Linked DNA regions of Homo sapiens: region 1 is linked to region 2. Evidence: promoter capture Hi-C in human tissues and cell types (Jung and others, 2019). All regions are on one chromosome and are shown on one strand. Each heading gives the region's core, a stretch centred on a gene start or on the middle of the fragment in contact. The rest is flanking DNA. Distances are from core to core; before and after follow the strand shown.

Evidence for each region. The method cuts DNA at HindIII sites, captures the fragments that hold promoters and counts their contacts. A contact is called where the count stands out against the background at its distance.
Region 1: a fragment that was not itself captured here is called in contact with the fragment with the promoter of IFNA1 in region 2 in 1 of the 25 tissues and cell types used here (liver).

Annotation. Positions count from the first base shown.
Region 1 is chr9:21,295,258-21,298,039 of GRCh38, forward strand. All of the region lies in intron 2 of LOC107987053 (a long non-coding RNA gene), which reads left to right. Among named protein-coding and RNA genes, the nearest start is that of IFNA5, 8.7 kb to the right of the region's middle. The HindIII fragment of the contact is 5,447 bases long and covers 1-2,782 here.
Region 2 is chr9:21,439,024-21,441,910 of GRCh38, forward strand. It overlaps IFNA1 (interferon alpha 1), which reads left to right and starts at 1,416. Exons shown (of 1, transcript NM_024013.3): 1 at 1,416-2,293. The coding sequence starts at 1,485. The coding sequence ends at 2,054. The HindIII fragment of the contact is 13,457 bases long and covers 1-2,887 here.

The DNA.
Region 1 (2,782 bases), core at 43-2,542, 140 kb before region 2:
AAGAAAAGAAAAACAGCCTTTCATATAAGAGTTTCTGAAAAACCTAGAACTTTCATTCAACGTCTGCTTTAATTTGTGGTTTTGTACTCTTAAGGGGAAATTGGTGGACAAAACCCACAAGAGAACTGAGAACAGCTGTATGAAGAGGCAATGCAGGTTAATGAAGAGTGAAGAGAAGAGAACAGTGCGGATTTCTAGAAGAAGAGGAAGGAAATTATTGTGATATGGGAGTTAAAAATGGGATCCAGAAAAACAGGGAGGAAAGGGGGAAGTGTGCCAGGTCTCAGAACCAGCAAAGGTTGCTATGTATATTTCACTTCAGTTTAGGAGACTAACTTTATATGGAAGTATATTCTGGAATTCTGAGAGCCAGAAAGGGAATGTGCCAGGTGCCAGAATCAGCTAATAAACATCATATATCTTCTGCACTTCAATCTAGATGGTGCTTCTTCTCTCTCAGGTATTTATACAAGCCACCATTTCCTGACTGAATACAAATAGCAAACTTCTTTGAAATAAGGAGGGATAATTTTTCAACCCCTCCAGATTTTTTGACAGAATTCTAGGTTTTTAGTTTGCCTCCTTTGGAGATGGGTTTCTGAAAGGGAGGACGTAGTTCCTAAGAATGTTATAGAAAGACGAATAATATTCTCTTCTCTAGCTGGATGAAGGAAAATAGAAAAATACCTGCCATATTTTAAATCCTTACTCTGTGAAGGATACCACACACAGTGCTTTAAACTATATGTGTTCATTTAGGAATAACAACTATATAAATATTTGAACCCATTATATTTATAAAAAAACTGAGCTCCTGCAGCCTCTGCACTGTGCTGCCACCACTGCCACTGTGAATGCCTACATGGAGTCCAACACCCCTGCACTCACCAGTGCCCCACTGCAGTCAATGAGCATTTGCCTTCCCAAGCTGCTGACACATGCAAATGAGGAAGGATCCCACTGCCACCACTCTATGAATCACTGTGGCTGGCACCACCTATCAGAGTGTTCTGACCAGTGGTTCAGGAGCAAATTAGGCCCCTTCAGCATGGCAGGTTGCGAATCTCCAGGGGCCCCAGAATGAAGCTTCAGGCCTGATAGTAGACACCCACAGTAGGATCATGCAGTTCAGGGCTCCTAAGCTGAGCCTTGGCCCACTTAAATCCCCATAGATTAAGCCAATTGACTGAACCCACATTATAGCAAAACTAAACCCCAAAGAATGTTACATAGGATAAAAGAAATAAAAGCAATCCAAAGGTTAGCAACTTCAAAGATTGAAGGACCATCAGCCCACAAAGATGAGAAAGAACCAGTTCAAGAACTCTGGCAACTCAGAAAACCAGAGTGACTTCTTACCTACAAACATCCACACTAGTTCTACAGCAATGGTTCCTAACCAGGCTAAGATGGCTGAATTGACAGAAATAGAATTCAGAATATGGATAGGAATGAAGATCATCGACATATAGGGGAAAGTTGAAACCCAATCCAATCCAAGGAGTCTAAGGATTACAATAAAACGATACAGGAGCTAATAGATGAAATGGTCACTATAAGAAAGAATCAAACTGATTGATAGAGCTGAAAAATACTGTACAGGAATTTCATAATGCAATTGCAAGTATTAACAGCAGAATTGACCAAGCTGAGGAAAGACTCTCAGAGCTTGAAAACTGGCTCTTCCAAATAACTCAGTCAGAGACAAATAAAGAAAAAACAATAAGAATAAACAAAACTTCCAAGGAATATAAGATTATGTAAAGAGACCCAATCTATGACTTATTGGCATGCCTGAGAGACAGAGAGAGAAACCAAGCAACTTGGAGAACATATTTCTTTTTTTTTTCTAAAGGATGTATTTTTACTATGATCTATTATTCTTAATTATTTTCACAAAATTGCTGGTAATCCTTAAAAAGTTGTATTTTGTTGCTGATTAATGCCGTCAACTGAACTATCTCTGTAAAGCATAATGATATTTTATTTTATTATATTTATATATTTTTTATTTTATTATTATTATACTTTAAGTTTTAGGGTACATGTGCACAACGTGCAGGTTTGTTACATATGTATACATGTGCCATGCTTGTGTGCTGCACCCATTAACTCGTCATTTAGCATTAGGTATATCTCCTAATGCTATCCCTCCCCCCTTCCCCCACCCCACAACAGTCCCCAGTGTGTAATGTTCCCCTTCTTGTGTCCATGTGTTCTCATTGTTCAATTCCCACCTATGAGTGAGAACATGCGGTGTTTGGTTTTTTGTCCTTGCTATAGTTTGCTGAGAATGATGGTTTCCAGTTTCATCCATGTCCCTACAAAGGACATGAACTCATCATTTTTTATGGCTGCATAGTATTCCATGGTGTATATGTGCCACATTTTCTTAATCCAGTCTATCGTTGTTGGACATTTAGGTTGGTTCCCAGTCTTTGCTATTGTGAATAGTGCCGCTATAAACATACATGTGCATGTGTCTTTATAGCAGCATGATTTATAAACCTTTGGGTATACACCCAGTAATGGGATGGCCAGGTCAAATAGCATTTCTAGTTCTAGATCCCTGAGGAATAGCCACAGTTTCTTCCACAATGGTTGAACTAGTTTACAGTCCCACCAACAGTGTAAAAGTGTTCCTATTTCTCCACATCCTCTCCAGCACCTGTTTATTCCTGACTTTTTAATGATCGCCATTCTAACAAGTGTGAGATGGTATCTCATTGTGGTTTTGATTTGCATTTCTCTGATGGCCAGTGATGATGAGCATTTTTTCACG
Region 2 (2,887 bases), core at 166-2,665:
TATCTTATAGCTAATAAGGAATGTGTCTCTTTATTCTGAGGTATATTCTTTATATACCTAATTTGTTATAAATTGTATTAGAGATGGATTTTAAATTTTGTCAAAATAATTTTAGGCATGCATAAAAATAGTTATGATTTTTAATCTTTTATTGTGTAAATAAGGAGTATGGCATTTATTGATTCCAACATATTAAAATATTCTTGCATCCCAGGAATAAATCAAGCTTGATCATAATAAATGATCCTTTTATAGTGCTTTTGAATTTCATTTGCAACTACTTTGTGGATGATTTTGCATCTGTGTTCATCAGGAATATTGGCTGTAATTTTTTTTTTTCTTGTAATGTCCATCTCTGGCTTAGGTATCAAGGTAATGCTGGCTTCATAAAATGAGTTTGGGAGTATTCCTCCTTAATTTTTTCAAAGATTTGGTTCTGTTTAAATGTTTGGTGAAATTCAGGAGTAATCAGATCTAAAAAAACGTAAGAACACTAAAAATAAATGATAAAAATATTTTAAAGTTTTAAGTGTTTATCACTTTCAAATAATTTTTAAGTATTCATTACTTAGAAAATGTTTATCTATAAACATTAGAAAATGTTTATAATTTGTTAATTTGCTTATGTAATTTGATACACTACAATTTATTTGTTTGTTTGTTTTTTGAAACAGAGTCTCACTCTGACACCCAGGCTGGAGTGCAGTGGCACAATCTCGGCTCACTGCAACCTCCACCTCATGAGTTCAAGGAATTCCCTGCCTCGGCCTCCTGAGTAGCTGGGATTACAGGTGCACACAACCATGCCTAGCTAATTTTTTTTTTGTTTTTTTTTTGTTTTTTTCGTTGAGATGGGGTTTCACCGTCTTGGCCAGGCTGGTCTTGAACTCCTGACCTCGTGATCCACCCACCTCGGACTCCCAAAGTGCTGGGATTACAGGCGTGAGCCACCTCGCCAGGCCTACAGTACAATTTATATCAGTAAATAAATTACGTTGAAGTCCATAAGCAAATTTAGTTATAAAGTTAAGAAAAATTTGAATAGATTTTAAATTTAACTTTTAGCTTAAATTTTTCATTTGGTTATTTTTAAACCTGCATTGAATACAAAGATTAAACTTTGTACTTTTTGATTATAGAGATATACATATAGTATATAAATAGATACATATTGTATCTGTGTTATTAAATTTTCACGGTGGGTTCAATTAGGAAAAAGATATCTAAAAAGTCTCTGGGAACAAGATGGGGAAGACAATAATGAAAAACAAAACATTTGAGAAACACGGCTCTAAACTCATGTAAAGAGTGCATGAAGGAAAGCAAAAACAGAAATGGAAAGTGGCCCAGAAGCATTAAGAAAGTGGAAATCAGTATGTTCCCTATTTAAGGCATTTGCAGGAAGCAAGGCCTTCAGAGAACCTAGAGCCCAAGGTTCAGAGTCACCCATCTCAGCAAGCCCAGAAGTATCTGCAATATCTACGATGGCCTCGCCCTTTGCTTTACTGATGGTCCTGGTGGTGCTCAGCTGCAAGTCAAGCTGCTCTCTGGGCTGTGATCTCCCTGAGACCCACAGCCTGGATAACAGGAGGACCTTGATGCTCCTGGCACAAATGAGCAGAATCTCTCCTTCCTCCTGTCTGATGGACAGACATGACTTTGGATTTCCCCAGGAGGAGTTTGATGGCAACCAGTTCCAGAAGGCTCCAGCCATCTCTGTCCTCCATGAGCTGATCCAGCAGATCTTCAACCTCTTTACCACAAAAGATTCATCTGCTGCTTGGGATGAGGACCTCCTAGACAAATTCTGCACCGAACTCTACCAGCAGCTGAATGACTTGGAAGCCTGTGTGATGCAGGAGGAGAGGGTGGGAGAAACTCCCCTGATGAATGCGGACTCCATCTTGGCTGTGAAGAAATACTTCCGAAGAATCACTCTCTATCTGACAGAGAAGAAATACAGCCCTTGTGCCTGGGAGGTTGTCAGAGCAGAAATCATGAGATCCCTCTCTTTATCAACAAACTTGCAAGAAAGATTAAGGAGGAAGGAATAACATCTGGTCCAACATGAAAACAATTCTTATTGACTCATACACCAGGTCACGCTTTCATGAATTCTGTCATTTCAAAGACTCTCACCCCTGCTATAACTATGACCATGCTGATAAACTGATTTATCTATTTAAATATTTATTTAACTATTCATAAGATTTAAATTATTTTTGTTCATATAACGTCATGTGCACCTTTACACTGTGGTTAGTGTAATAAAACATGTTCCTTATATTTACTCAATCCATTATTTTGTGTTGTTCATTAAACTTTTACTATAGGAACTTCCTGTATGTGTTCATTCTTTAATATGAAATTCCTAGCCTGACTGTGCAACCTGATTAGAGAATAAAGGGTATATTTTATTTGCTTATCATTATTATATGTAAGATGTAAGTAAAAATGACCTTTCTCTAAACCAGGTTGTATGTTGTACTCAAGATATAAAGCTGAATACAATAAATCTACTTCCTACTCTCTTGCATATTTGGTTTTTGTATGGAATAAAACTAAAGATGGTAATCATACTTAATATCAGTTATCCTAAATACTATGAGAAGAAGGAGCAACTAATGATTTCTCTCAGCAGCGGGTAAACTGAGACAGGTGAGGAAATAAAAATAAACAGATATCCTCAAAAGTTGACTGGTAAACATCTAGTAGAAAATGTCTATTGCCAGTTGGATATATGAGTTTGCAACTTACAAGGAATGCAGTTGCTGGGGGTTCATACATGGCAAGCAAAATCCCAGAAATGGAAGTGCTCATGTGTGGAGAGAGTGTAGACAGAGAAAAGGACTTAAGCAGGATTTTGAGGACCTTCCACCTTTAAAGT